Regions from separate parts of the Homo sapiens genome. Here region 2 is linked to region 1. The links are contacts of gene promoters, found by promoter capture Hi-C in blood cells and fetal thymus (Javierre and others, 2016). All regions are on one chromosome and are shown on one strand. Each heading gives the region's core, a stretch centred on a gene start or on the middle of the fragment in contact. The rest is flanking DNA. Distances are from core to core; before and after follow the strand shown.

The links. Contacts are between HindIII fragments. The CHiCAGO score rates a contact against its expected background, and 5 or more counts as called.
Region 2: a fragment that was not itself captured here is called in contact with the fragment with the promoter of FAM200B in region 1 in 1 of 17 cell types (M1 macrophages); the score reaches 6.3 in M1 macrophages.

Annotation. Positions count from the first base shown.
Region 1 is chr4:15,677,982-15,685,105 of GRCh38, forward strand. FAM200B (family with sequence similarity 200 member B) reads left to right here and starts at 3,846. Exons shown (of 2, transcript NM_001145191.2): 1 at 3,846-3,920. It also overlaps a transcript of FBXL5 not described here. RefSeq lists enhancers at 3,346-3,645, 3,816-4,055, 4,066-4,115. The HindIII fragment of the contact is 4,207 bases long and covers 754-4,960 here.
Region 2 is chr4:15,481,190-15,488,313 of GRCh38, forward strand. All of the region lies in intron 4 of CC2D2A (coiled-coil and C2 domain containing 2A), which reads left to right. Among named protein-coding and RNA genes, the nearest start is that of CC2D2A, 15 kb to the left of the region's middle. The HindIII fragment of the contact is 2,241 bases long and covers 429-2,669 here.

The sequences.
Region 1 (7,124 bases), core at 2,596-5,095:
GAATTGCATTGTAGGACATTCAGCTGGTGTCAGGGAATTGCTATTGGAATGATGTATCATTAAATGGGCGGGTGGGTGTGTTTCATACATACTTTCTTTTCTCATAAATTATATATTTAATAGGAATAATTCAACTACTGTGAATTTAAAAATCAAACAAAAAACTATGAAGTTGCACATACTTTTAACTTATGGGACAAGTCATTATTCATAGGTGTTAAGTCTCAAAACAGGCAGGATTGCCTGGATTTTCTCATTTGCAATTTTATCTTTCAATCTAACAAGAATGGCTTCATTAATTTTTTACACAAAACATTATTAATCTAGGCATTTTCTGGCTTATTTCCCAATAACTTACTCAGAATTTGGCACATCAAAAACTTCATTGCTGTTTACCTCAGTATTGAAACAAAAACAAATGAAAACTTATTCCCAAGTGGCATTGTAACGACCACTTGATTTTCCCCAAGTGAAGGCTTTAATAACTCAAAGGGGTTACAATTCATGCAAACGAAGAAAAGCTACAATGCTACTTTCATGCATAGGTATACTAAATATACATTTACATAGTCTCAAAATAGTCCTTGTCTGAAATATTTGCTAAATAACAAGAATGCAACAACTTTTTGACCAAAATGATCTTCTGCATTCCTTCCTAGGTAGAGCATTAATTTAAGTATATTTACCTAAAATTGGTTTCTTATAATTTTAAATGTAAGCTATTATTACTTAACAAATCAGCTTTTAATTATAAGCTTATTATTTTAGCCTACAGAAAAATATTTATAAGGTCATTTTGTTTGAAATGTCACTGTCTTCATTTTTCTCATTATCTTCCTTCTGTTTGGTGAAATGATGTAATAAACTGCTGCAAATTCTGTTTCTCACTCTACTGTTGGTTCATATTTGCAGATCATCATAGCTTAATTGATATAATGAACAAATGCCTCTTAAAAAACTTTTACTGGTCAGCAGAAATAAAAAACAAACCCTTCACAAACTACATTGATAATAGTCTCTGTCCCTAGCACTATCATAATTCTCAAAAATCTCAACAATTTTTCACCAAACTAAAATCTCTATTTTTTTTTTTTTTTTTTTTGAGACGGAGTCTCACTCTCACCAGGCTGGAGTGCAGCGGCGTGATCTCGGCTCACTGCAACCTCCGCCTCCTGGGTTCAAGCGATTCTCCTGCCTCAGCCTCCTGAGTAGCTGGGATTATAGGCACGTGCCACCACACCCAGCTAATTTTTGTATTTTTAGTAGAGACAGGGTTTCACCATGTTGGTCAGGATCTCCTGATCTCATGATCCACCCGCTTCGGCCTCTCAAAGTGCTGGGATTACAGGTGTGAGCCACCATGTCGGGCTAAAATATCTACTCTTTAACAATTATTAATTATCCATCCAGTAGAAAAAACTGAGGAAAATAAACCTGAGTAATATTTACCCAAGTCTCTTGTTTTTGAATTGCTTCTGTCATGGAGCAAGGAAGCACAGATTTTGATCACAAGAGATTTTGATTTTTCTAAATATCCTTGAATCTATCTAGAGAAATATGCTAAAGGTACAGTTCAGGAACAAAAAAAAAAAAAAACAAAAAAACAAAAAACCAACACCCAATGGTCCCAATTCAATACTGCTTTTTAAAATTAAGCCTTCTTATCACACAACAAGTTATTTTTGTTATATGTTTTATCATTCTAACTCATATTCCCAAACTTTTCAGGATTTTACTTATCTATCAAAAAATCCCAATTATATTCCTGTTCTTTCCAATCCCCCTAAAAAAAAAAAAGCAGTATGTCTCATTCTCTTCTCTGCTGATAGGAGTGTAAAATGGATCACTCTATGAAGGGCAACTGTAAATATCTATCATATTTGCAAACACATTTCCTCTTGGATCCAGCAATTCTTTTCAGAATCTGACAGTTACCCCTGCAAATGTAGAAATGACATGTATTCACTGAAGAGTTGTTTCTAATATCTGAAGACTGGAAACAACGCCAAGTGTCCACCTACGCGTGATTTACTGTATAAACTGGAGTATATCTACAAAATGGAGTATGTGACAGGAAAAAATAAGTTTAATTGAATACTGATAAGGAGGAATATCCAGAATATACAGTAAAACAGGAAAAAAAAAAACATGAACAATGCAGAAAATATTGAAGGAGAGACCGAGTGAAATAAGACTGTATATTCTCATCTGCTTGTATCTCTGCATGAAGACCGGAAGGATAAACAAGAAACTAATTTAAAATGATTACCCGTGAAGACTATTAGGAATGGTACTGGATAGGGACTAGGGAGGAAGTGTTTCTTGCTGCATTTCTTTTCATGTAGTTTGAGCCATGTAAAAGAAATATTTGCTAATCAAAAAACAGCTTTAAAAATCCAGTGGGAGAGGCTGGGTGCAGTGGCTCACCCCTGTAATCCCAGCACTTTGGGAGGCCCAAGTGGGTGGATCACCTGAGGTCAGGAGTTCGAGACCAGCCTGGCCAAAATGGTGAAACCCCGTCTTTGTATTTTTGAAAAATACAAAAATTAGCCTGGCATGGTGGCGGTCGCCTGTAATCCCAGCTACTCGGGAGGTTGTGGCAGGGGAATCGCTTGAACCAGGAGGCTGAGGTTGCAGTGAGCCGAGGCTGCGCCACTGCACTCCAGCCTGGGCGAGAGAGTGAGACTCCGTCTCAAAAATTAAAAAAAAAAATCCAGTTGGAGAATCAAAAATTTTTAAAAATTTGACTGTGTAATCCTACAAGAAGTAAGTAGCTTGAGAAAGAGAAATGCTGATAAAGTCGCATTAAGTTTCAGAGTTGAAATTCAAGCTCCTGTATCTAACATGTTTCCCTGTTTAAGGTAGAATTTAAAAAAAAACTATATATGACATATATATGTCAACCCAAAAAAATAAAGCAGTATATATTATATATATAAGAATATATATATATTCTCCTTTATATGTTTTTTGTTTCACATATATATATAAATATATATCTCAACCACAAAAAAATTTGGTTTGTGACAAAGATGCACTTATTTGCACGAACCTATCTTGTTAATGATCAAGAAATCTGCTTTGTTACAATCATTAGAGGACAGAAATATACATACATATTTAAATCTATTTAATGAAATGCAGTTTTATGTTAAAAATCAATGATCTGCTAACCTAAAGAGTCGCACAGGAATACTATGATTATTAAACACAATGCGATTCTCTAAATAAGTAAACACGTGCAATGATATCAAAGTTCAAAATTCTCTAATTCTTCCACAAAGACTATGAAAATCACCTTGGAGTGTATGAACCAGCGTCCTGGCCCCGCCAGGTCGGGGCTGGGGCGGGCGCGGGCCGGGAGCGCTTACCCCGCGGCAGGAGCGATTCAGCGCCACTACCTGCTTCGCCTGGTTGTGGTGTGGCTGCTGCGCCAACCGAAAGGCCTCCTTAATCCGCAGCAGTCTCTTTTCGCTCCCATGGCTCTGGGACTCTGTCCGGACTAGCCCTGTCCGCGCTCGGCTACATCCGGCCCGCCCACCAGCTCAGAGGCAGAGTTCTCCGCGGTGTCTCCTAGGGTTTCTTGTCAGAGGGCCCCAGGCGCCTAGGGAGTCGTTACCGCCCTGGCATTCAAATAACTCCCGCGAGAGGCGGAAATCCCGCGAGACTGCCGACAGAGCGTAGGGAAGTGGAAAAGTGGAGCCTGCACCGCCCGCTCCCGGCACCCCCGGACACCGCCCCGGTCTCACGCATGCGCAGAGGGCCGATCCAGTTCTTTTCGGCTGGAATGGGGAATTTGTGAGGTAGGCCGGAAGTGGTGTTGCGGAGGGAAGTGTGGGGAGAGCAGAGGCGCAGCTCTGCTGGAGAGACCTGAGGCTTGCAGCGCTGGGCCCGGCCGGGTCGCTGCGGCTGGGCTGGAGGTGAGGCGAAAGAAGGGCATCCTCTGATGGGAGTGGACCGGAGTCCGCTAAAGCGAAGCATTCCAGGGTTCGTTGCGGGAAATACAGTCTGGTTTTGCCCCCCGTATGAATTGAGGGAAGGTGAGAGCAGAAGCAATCCGGGCCTGAAGGGCGATTATTCTAGGGTCGGCCGAGGGGTTCAGGCCAAAGTTCATTGAAATCCTAGCTGGGTCCCTGGAGGACGAGAAAACCGGTCAGGAGTCTCCTGGGAAGAGGGTCATGTTTTAATCTAGCTAAAGCTGGTACCTGGCAGTTTCCACTCTTAAGGCCTAGTGTACTAACTAATGTGTGCGCAATGTCAAAACAGGAAACAAAGGGAAATGCAAGAGGTGGAAGGTAATTTTAAGTTAGTGGCAGTATGACAGATTTCCAGTGCCTTCAGGAAGGTATCCAGCCTTAAAGATGCTTTTTTTAAATAGACGATTTTAGACAGAAAAAAGGTAGAAACAAAACTATAACACATGTGTACTCACCACTGAATTGGAGAAATAAATGATTATATAAGTGATTGAAGTCCTTTGTCAGCTCTACCCCGTCTCATTCTCTTTCCTTTTGCCTAAGGAAACCACTCTCCTAACCACCTTTATGCAATCTGTAATGTGTACATCTTTTTGCAGCTAGCTTGTTTTACATAATGTTTTTGAGATTTGTCAGTGTTGTGTAACTCCACCTTATTCATCTTAATAGCTGAACAGATATTCTGTTATTTTAATATGTCACTGTTCATTGTTTAGTATCTCCAGTGCCTGACATACTTTAGGCACTGTAGGTAGCTAAATGTTAGTTGAATGCATGGCTGCTGTAGCATTTGAACTAAGTAGAAAAGAATAAATAGGACTTCATGTGACCCAACAAGAGTATTCCAGGCAAAAGGAATACTAGCCAAAAGCAGAGACATGAAAGTGCATGAACTATTTCAAGAATTTCCATACTTTTAGTACTGAAATGTAGAATGTATGGAGATCATGTGATGAAGGAGAAACCTGGAAAGATGAGGCTTAAGCTTAAAGGATATTATCCTGAAGAGCTTACACAAGCTCGGCGCCATTAAATGCTTTTCCAGTTATGAGGAAGCTGATTAGAGCTGTATTTTCAGAAGATGATACAGCGCACTAGAGATATATCTTAGGATATAAAAGATTAGTGACGGGGAATTTTAGACTATCAAGCATTGTAACAATAACAATCATTGCATTAAGCAAGTAAGACAACCAGCCAGACTAAAAATCCAAAAACATTTTCCTAGTCCATCATATTATCACATTCCTTAACAATTATTAATATTTCATATTTTCTTCTGACAAACTTGCAACATTTTCTACTTCGGCCTCTTACTTAGATGATACCTCACATCCTATTGAGTTAAAAAAAAACTTCCCCATGCTTTCATCACCACATCTACCAGACCTGTTCCCTAATATACTGCCACTGCTGTTACTATAGATGAACTGTCTGATTTAGGAGGGAGAGTAAACCCTTTAAAAATATCTTTTTAATACAATAGTAACTGAACTAGTGTTACAAACTTTCAAGGGGGGATTGAAACGTGAATAGTAAGAATATGAAAGAATGGAATAGTTAAAAGACAATTGCTTCTAAGAGATAAATGATCCATATATAGTAATATAAAAATAAGATACTTTTTTAATGTATATTTCTTTTTTTCAGGTAGATTTAGGTTCTAAGCTTTAAAAGCTAAATCTAAATTTACATGTATGTTTTTATAGGATCATTGTTTCTACTATTTCTTAACATAAGCAGTTTATTATGAAGTAGAATCTTTAACAATCCTGTTTTAAATAATATGTTTTATTAGCCTTCGTCTTACATATTTCCCAGTTGTCCAAATATAGTTGGATAACTTATTTGTTACTGACTGTGATAAAAATAGAGTGTACATTGTACAGTTTACTACAGGTGTCATTAATTTTCTCATTCTCTCATATGCATTGAGTAACTACCATACAGCAAGCACTATTCTAGGAACAGGTAGATAAGATTTATTAGTGGAAAATCACTTACCTAAAACCATATCATATAACCGTGTTAATGCACCTTGGTGTATGAGAAACTTTCAACTACAAATATTTGATTACCTTAATTGCAATTCTTAAGGGAGGCTAAGTAGATGGATAGCTGAATAAAGTTATTACTTGGAAATGTTGCCATGTAGCCGCAGGAGCCAATTTCAGTGCACACATCTTAAGCATCAGTGTACACATTTATAGGTCTTTGGTGTTTGGGCCAGCAGAACCCACCTGGGTTATGGAATCACACTGGTGTACTTGATCGTGTTCGGGTATGAACATGCTCTGATTTACATTGAGTACTAATTGAGCATGTCTATTTAAATTAAAGTTCCAGAATTTATGTTTAGGCCAGAACCTCAGGTTTGAACTTCTCCCCTAAAATTCCTCTGGCTTCTCATTAAAGCCGCTTTCGGAGATATAAGTAAAGAAAGTCAAACAAAAGACTTTGTAGCATGTTTTGTTTAACATGTTTTGTTTAGCACTGTTTTTCTTGAGCTATATATGATAAATATCTAGGGAGAGGTGGCAGAAGGACAAAATTGTAGTAGTTTGAGGTTTCTTGGGGGAAAGTTGAAGCATTAAAACATGTTAGCATCCTTATATGAACTTTTAACTATGGAAGGAAGAGTCAGTATTCCCTTTCAGGCAGCTGTTTATCTGGCTTAGACTGCCTCAAGGCTGTGTATTGCCCTTCAGCTTTTCTTATGCATTAGAAAGAGATCTAGATGCATTTGCCTTTAGCAGTGTAGTTCTGAATACATTGATGACCACCCACTGTGCTGGGACATGCAAGAGGTATGTACCATAAACTCTTTAGTCCTGCTAATGTCCTCGACAGAGGACATAAAACCTCCTAAGAAAAGCTTTGTCTCTTTCCAGCCAAGGTTAACTATTTGTAACATGTCATCTTTCAAGGAAGCATCTAACCAAGATTAAGTCAAAGGCATCTACCAGGTCCTGAATTCTCTCCCAGATGCACACCTTTTAAGGTACAATCAGGTACCATATGTAATCTGTAGCTATTTAACCATCGTTAAAGCATTTAGGACTTTGATTTCCTAGAAGAAGTCATGGTCTGCAAAATAATTGTATTAAAAGGTATAAAACCTGATCAGGAAAAAGAGGTTTAGGGCCA
Region 2 (7,124 bases), core at 299-2,798, 200 kb before region 1:
CTCACAGGAGAGCTGGTTGTTAAAAAGAGCCTGGGCAGGCCAGGCACGGTGACTCACGTCTGTAATCCCAGCACTTTGGAAGGCCGAGGCGGGTAAATCACCTGAGGTTGGGAGTTCAAGACCAGCCTGACCAACATGGAGAAACCCCATCTCTACTAAAAATACAAAAAAATTAGCCAGGCGTGGTGGCGCATGCCTGTAATCCCAGCTACTTGGGAGGCTGAGGCATGAGAATTGCTTGAACCTGGGAGGTGGAGGTTGCAGTGAGCCGAGATCGGAGCACTGCACTCCAGCCTAGGCAACAGAGCAAGACTCCATCTCAGAAAACAAACAAACAAAAAAGAGCCTGGAACCTCCTCCCCTCTCTCTTGCTCCCTCTCTCACCATGCGACACACCTGTTTCCCCTTCCCCTTCTGACATAAGTGAAAGCTTCCTAAGGCCTCACCAGAGGCAGATGCTGGCACCATGCTTATTGCACAGTCTGCAGAACAGTGAGCCAAAATAAACCTCTTTTCTTTATAAATTACCCAGTCTCAGATATTCCTTTATAGCAATGCAAAATGGACTAACAATACATAAGTTAGGGAGTGTTAATTAGAATGGAAATTAAATATGCAGAAACTCAAAGGAAGATGAAATTGTTAGGGAAGACATATGTGTTAACCTAGTGAGGCTTGAATCAGATGTTTGGAAGAAATGAGGGAGGTTTCTGAGGCTCCTGGTGACCTTGCCATTGAGGACACATATACTTCTCCCCCTACACACGCCTTTTCTTCTTCCCCAGTACAATGAACATTAGGAATTACCTGCTCATTGTAGGGAAAATGACCACCCTTCAGGCATTGCTTTTCATGAAAAGTGGATTAGACAAGAGGAGAAGTGGTTACACTTTTTAATTGTTACATAATTGTTAGACTGTTTTCCCTATGGCAAAGTTGGGAAATAAGTAACTGTTGGAAACTAGAGGCCTTTGGAAGCAAGTAGACTCTTAGATTGGAAAAATGTGGTTCTAATCTAAAAGCAATGATACAATGAGAGCTGTTATGAATTAATAAAAACAGAACCAAAATTTATCTCATATGGCTGTTTCTTTTTCTAAATGCTCAAAATTATTTATTACTACCAAAGATTACAACTTGTCATTTCAGGCTGCCATAACAAAATACTATAGACTGGGGGGCTTAAACACCCAACATTTATTTTCTCATGGCTCTGAAGGCTGGACATCTGAGATCATGGTGCCAGCATGGCCGGTTTCCAGTGAGGCCCTTCTTCCTGGCTAGTTGGTGGCCACCATCTTGCTGTGTGCTCACATGACCTCTTCTCTGTGCCTGCACTGGGGGAGGGAGAGGCTCTACTGTCTCCTCTTATAAGGACACTAATCCTAATCCTATCAGGGCCCCTCCCTTATGATCGCATTTGACCTTAATTACCTCCTACAGGTTCTATCTCTAAATGCAGTCAGATTGGGGGAGAAGGCTTCAACATACAGATTTTCAGAGGGGGGACACAATTCAGTCCTTAGCACAACTACTGGATATTTAATTATTTATTTTAAAATCAAGGGAAAGACTGCCAGGAGAGGTGGCCACCAGTCAAGGCTCTGTGACATAAAAAGTGGATTATTTTCTAACTCGAAAATGAAGAAGATACTGTCCACTGTCACCATGGAGATGATCTATGCATTAGTCCCTTCCCCCACAAAAAGCGCTATTTCTGAATTGGGGAATGGAGAGGTATGGAATGAACAGAAGGCTGAGACCTGCCTACTGGAGCCACACCATGACCATCCAGTGTCTGGGAAGCCCTGGGTGGAGCTGGAAGCTGCTGATGAATTGGCAGCACTGATAAACCAAGACGAAGAGAAAACATCCCCAGCAGTGAGGGGTGGAGCATATGGTGGATAAGGAGTCTGTGGAGCCAGGCATCTGTCAGAAATGAGAAGTCAAAGCCAGCAGACAAAGTCAAGAGAGCAGAGGAAGTATTATTATACCAGTGGCATTAGAGCAGGAGACAGACAAGTAAAAAGGAATGATGAGTGCTGGCAGAAACAACAGAGTGCTGGACTGCCCTAGGCAGGCAAGGATAGCAAGGGAGGTGACAGAAGAATGGAGCCTCCACATATGGAGGAGTCTGCATGGGGAACTGTAGGGTGAGGAGGATTCCCAATTCAGGTCTTGGAAACACACAGATGTATGTGTAGAAAACACGGAGAGGGTCAAGAGCAAGATAGAAGCAGCCATGTGCTTTATGACCCAGTCATAGAAATCACCTATCAGTCCTTTCGACATATTTGTTAGAAGCATGTCCCTAAATCCAGCCCACATTTAAGGGAAGGAAAATCAGCCTCCTTCTTTTGAAAGAAGGAGTGTCAAAGAATGTATGGACATTTTTACTACCACATTAATTTTTCTTTAAAACTCCTCTTTATCTCACTTTTCTACTCAGAAATCTATTATATTACATTACATAAAATCCACACTCTCTTATTTATTCCGGGCTCTAAGGATCTATGCAATTGGGCTCCTTCCGGTTGTATTTTCCAGTGTTTTCCAGTGTGCTCCACTTTGGTTGACTCCTTACTGGCCTCTGAATGCCTCGTGACCATCTCAGCATTTCTGGGCTTTGGTTCCCACTTTAAGAGAGTTCTCTGATTGTGTCTTTATTAAGCTTGTGATTGAAACACAATTGAGCTGTTGCAGTTAAGACCATGGGCGTTGGCTTAGACAAGAGTGGGTACCAGTCTCTACCTATCTTACTCCCTTGGGCAAGTTCTCCGACCTACCTAAACTTTAGTTTCCTTATTTGTAAAACAGGGACAATAATAGATTGCGTGAACACTGCCACAGAGTTTATACTCCAGTTGTGGGAGGGATGAGAGGAAAAAAGAGAAAAACAAATGAAGTAAACTAGATAAACATAGAGTACAGCAGGTGTGAGAAGTCCTGAAGAGAAAGATAAAGAATAAGCTGGCAGGACTGCAGTGGGAGTGAGAGGATGAGGTGCATTTATGAAAGGAAATGAGTGATCCCCAAGGGGAGAATGTTCCAGGCAGTGGTCTTAAGGCAGGAATGTGCTTGCGACATTAAGCAACAGCCAGGGGGCAAGGGCAGTGGAGAGTGAACAACAAGGAAAAGGAAAAAAATAAAATCAGAAGGGAGGAGGGGAATTGTACCCAGCCTAGTGGGCCCTTTGACTTTTAATCCGAATGAGATGAGCGTCATTGGAGGGTTCAAGCCCAGGACTGATATAATCAGATTTAAGGCTGACGGCTGCTGTGCTGAGTAGACTTTGGAAGGAGTGAGGGCAGAAGCACAGAGACCAGGTAGAGGCCAACAGCAAAAATCCAGGTGGGAGTTATTGGGGAATGGGACTGGCGGGTAGTGGAAGGGGTGGAAAGAGTGTGGGAAATCTGGGTATTTGGAAGGTAGAGACGAACAGGTATATTTCTCGATTGAACAAGAATTATGAAAGCAGGAAGGTTGCCTCCATGGTTTTTGACTTGAGTCAAAAATGGGTAACTCCACTTTCCCCAATAGAGTTTCAGAGAAGGAAAAGATGGCAGAAAGGGCAGGTTTGAAGGTAGAAATTGAATGGACATGCAAAGTTGAGATGCCTGCTGAATATCCAAGTGGACATGGATGTATGGATACAGGGATCTGGTGGTTGGGGAGAGGTGGAGAGTGGACAGGGATTCCTTGATCTTTTATCTAGAATGTCCCTTTCCCACCTCTGCCCTCTTTCCTCTCAGCTGGTTCTACTTTCCTTCAGAGCACTCATCACCTCCCGGCATTTTCCAATCAGCTGACTATCTTGATCATTAGAAGGAAAGCTCCCTGAGATCAAGACTTTGTCTGCTGTATTCATTGCTTATTCCCCAATGCAATATTTGGAGCTTGATAAACATATATTGAAAAACTGCCATGGGCATAACAACAAATGCTCAAGACAGGGTCCTGCCTCTGGTAACCATCATTCTACTCACTATCTCTATCAGATCAATTGTTTTAGCTCCCACATATGAGTGAAAACATGTACTAGTTGTCTTTCTGTGCCTGGCTTTCTTCACTAACATAATGTCCTCCAGTTCCATCCATGTTGTTGCAAACTGCAAAATTTCATTCTTTTTTATGGCTGAATAATATTCCATTGTGTATATGCAGCATGCTTTCTTTATCCATTTATCCATTGATGGATACTTAGGTTAATTCCGTATCTTAGCTGTTGTGAATAGTGCTGCAGTAAAAATAGGAGTTCAGATATCTCTTTGATATACTGCTTTCCTTTCTTTTGGATATATACCCAGCAGTGGCATTTCTGGATCATAGGGTAGTTCTATTTTTAGTTTTTTGAGAAACTTCATATTGTTTTCCATAACAGCTGTACAAATTTACATTCTCACTAACAGTATACAAGCATTCCCTTTTCTCTGCATTCTTGCCAGCATCTGTTTTGTCTTTTTGATGAAAGCCATTTTAACTGGAGTAAGATATCTCATTGTGGTTTAATTTGCATATCCCTCATGATTAGTGAATTTGAGCATTTTTGCGTATACCTGTTGGCCATTTGTATGTCTTCTTTTGAGAAATGTCTATCAATGTTTTTTGCCTATTTTTAATGAGATTATTTATGTTTTATCTGTTGAGATATTTGAGTTCCTAGTATATTCTGGATATCAGTCCCCTTTCAGAGGAGTAATTTGCAAATATTTTTTCACATCTACTGAACTGATCATGTCCTTTTTCCTTCATTCTGTTGATATGATGTATTACTTTATTGATTTTATATATTGAACTATCCTTGCATCCCTGAGATGAATCCCACTTGATCATGAAGAATGATGTTGTTAATTTATTATTGAATACAGTTGGCTAGTATTTTGTTGATGATTTTTGCATCAGTGTGCATCAGAGATACTGGCTTGTAAAGTTTTTTGTTGTTATGTCTTTGTCTGGTTTTGGTATCAGGATAATACTGCCCTTGTACCATAGGTTTGGAAGTATTCCCTCCTCTGATTTTTGGAATAGTTTGAGTAGGATTAATAATAGTTCTTTAAATGTTTTGTTGAATTCAGCAGGGTAGCCATCAGGTCCTGGGCTTTTCTTTGAAGAGAAACACTTTTTATTACTGCTTCTATCTCATTACTTGTTTTTTGTCTATTCAGATTTTATATTTCTTCATGTTTCAATCTTGGTAGGTTGTATATGTCTAGAAATTTATCCATTTCTTCTAGCTTTCTAGAAGAAATGTATTGGCATATAGTTGCTCATAATAGTCTCTAATAATCCTTTGATTTTCTGTGGTATCAGTTGTTATGTCTCCATTTTTGTCTCTGATTTTATTTCTGTGGGTCTTCTCTTTTTCTTAATCTGGCTAAAGTTTTGTCAATTTTGTTTATCTTTTCAAAAAACAACTTTTCATTTCATTGATCTTTTCTACTTTTTATTAAGTATCACTTTCATTTATTTCTGCTCTGATCTTTATTATTTTTCTTCTACTAATTTCGAGTTTTGATGTGCTTTTGATTTTCTGTTTCTTTAAGATGCATTGTGAGGTTATTTAAAATCTTTCTACATTTTTGACGTAGGTATTTATTGCTATAAAATTCCCTTCCGGTAATGCTTTTGCTATACCCTATAGGTTTTCATATGTTGTGTTTCCATTTTCATTTGTTCCAGTCAATTTTTTATTTTTTTAATTCATCATTGACCCAATTGTTGTTCTGGAGTGTATTGTTTAATTTTTATGAATTTGTAGAGTTTTCAGAGTTTCTCTTGTTATTGATTTCTAGTTTTATTTTATTGTGGTTAGAGAAGATACCTGATATGATTTCAACTTTTTTGAATTTTTTGAGACTTGTTTTGTGGCCTGAGATATAGTCTATCCTTGAGCATGTTCCATGTGCTGAAGAGAAAAATGTGTATTCTGCAGCTGTTGGATGAAATGTTCTTTAAATCTGTTAGTTTCATTTGTTTTATTTGCAGATTAAGTCCAATATTAGTTTGTTGATTTTCTCTCTAAATGATCTATCCAATGCTGAACGGGAGTATTAAGATCCTCAACTATTATTAATGGGAGACTTGTATTGGGATTTAGCTCTAATAATATTTGCTTTATATATCTGGGTGTCCCAGTATTGGGTGCCTATGTATTTACAAGTATTATATCCTCTTGATGAATTGACCCCTTTATCATTGTATAATGACCTTCTTTGTCTCTTTTTACAATTTTTGTCTTGAAATCTATTTTATCTGATACATATACAGCTACTCCTGCTCTTTTTACATTTCCATTGCATAGAATAACTTTTTCTACCCCTTTATTTTCAGTCTATGTGCATCTTTACAGGTGAAATGAGTTTCTTATAGGTAGCATATAATTGGCTCTTTTTTTCAATCTTTTTCATCCGTTCAGCCAATCTATGTCTTTTGATGGGAGAATTTAGTCCATTTATATTCAACGTCATTATTCACAGGGAGGGACTTACTACTGCCATTTTCTTATTTGTTTTCTGGTTGTTTTGTTAGTCCTCTCTTCCTTTCTGCCTTCTTCCTGTCTTTCTTAGTGTATAAGTGATTTTCTCCAGTAGTATGTTAAAAAAATTTTTTTTTTTGTACCTGTCATAGGTTTTTGCTCTGTGATTACCATGAAGCTTGCAAATAACATCTTATAACCAGTTATTTTAAGCTGATGACAACTTAAATCTGATCACAATGAAAAGAAAATAAAAAGCAAAAACTGAAAAATTCTATATTTTAACCCCGTCTCCCCCCTGCTTTTTTATTTTTTGTTGTCTCTACTTATATCTTTTTGTACTGTCTATCTCTTGACAAATTGTTGTAGTTATTATTTTTGATAGGTTTTTCTTTTAGTCTTCAGGGCTAAAGATATGAGTGATTTAAACACCGCAATTACAGTGTTAGGGTATTCTGTATTTGTCTGTGTACTTATGTTCACTGGTGATTTTTATACCTTCAGATTTCTTATTGCTCATTAGCATTCTTCTCTTTTAGATTGAAGAACTCCCTTTAGCATTTCTTGTAAGATAGATCTGGTGATGATGAAATCCCTTGGCTTTTGCTTGCCTTGAAAAGTCTTTATTTCTCCTTCATGTTTAAAGGAT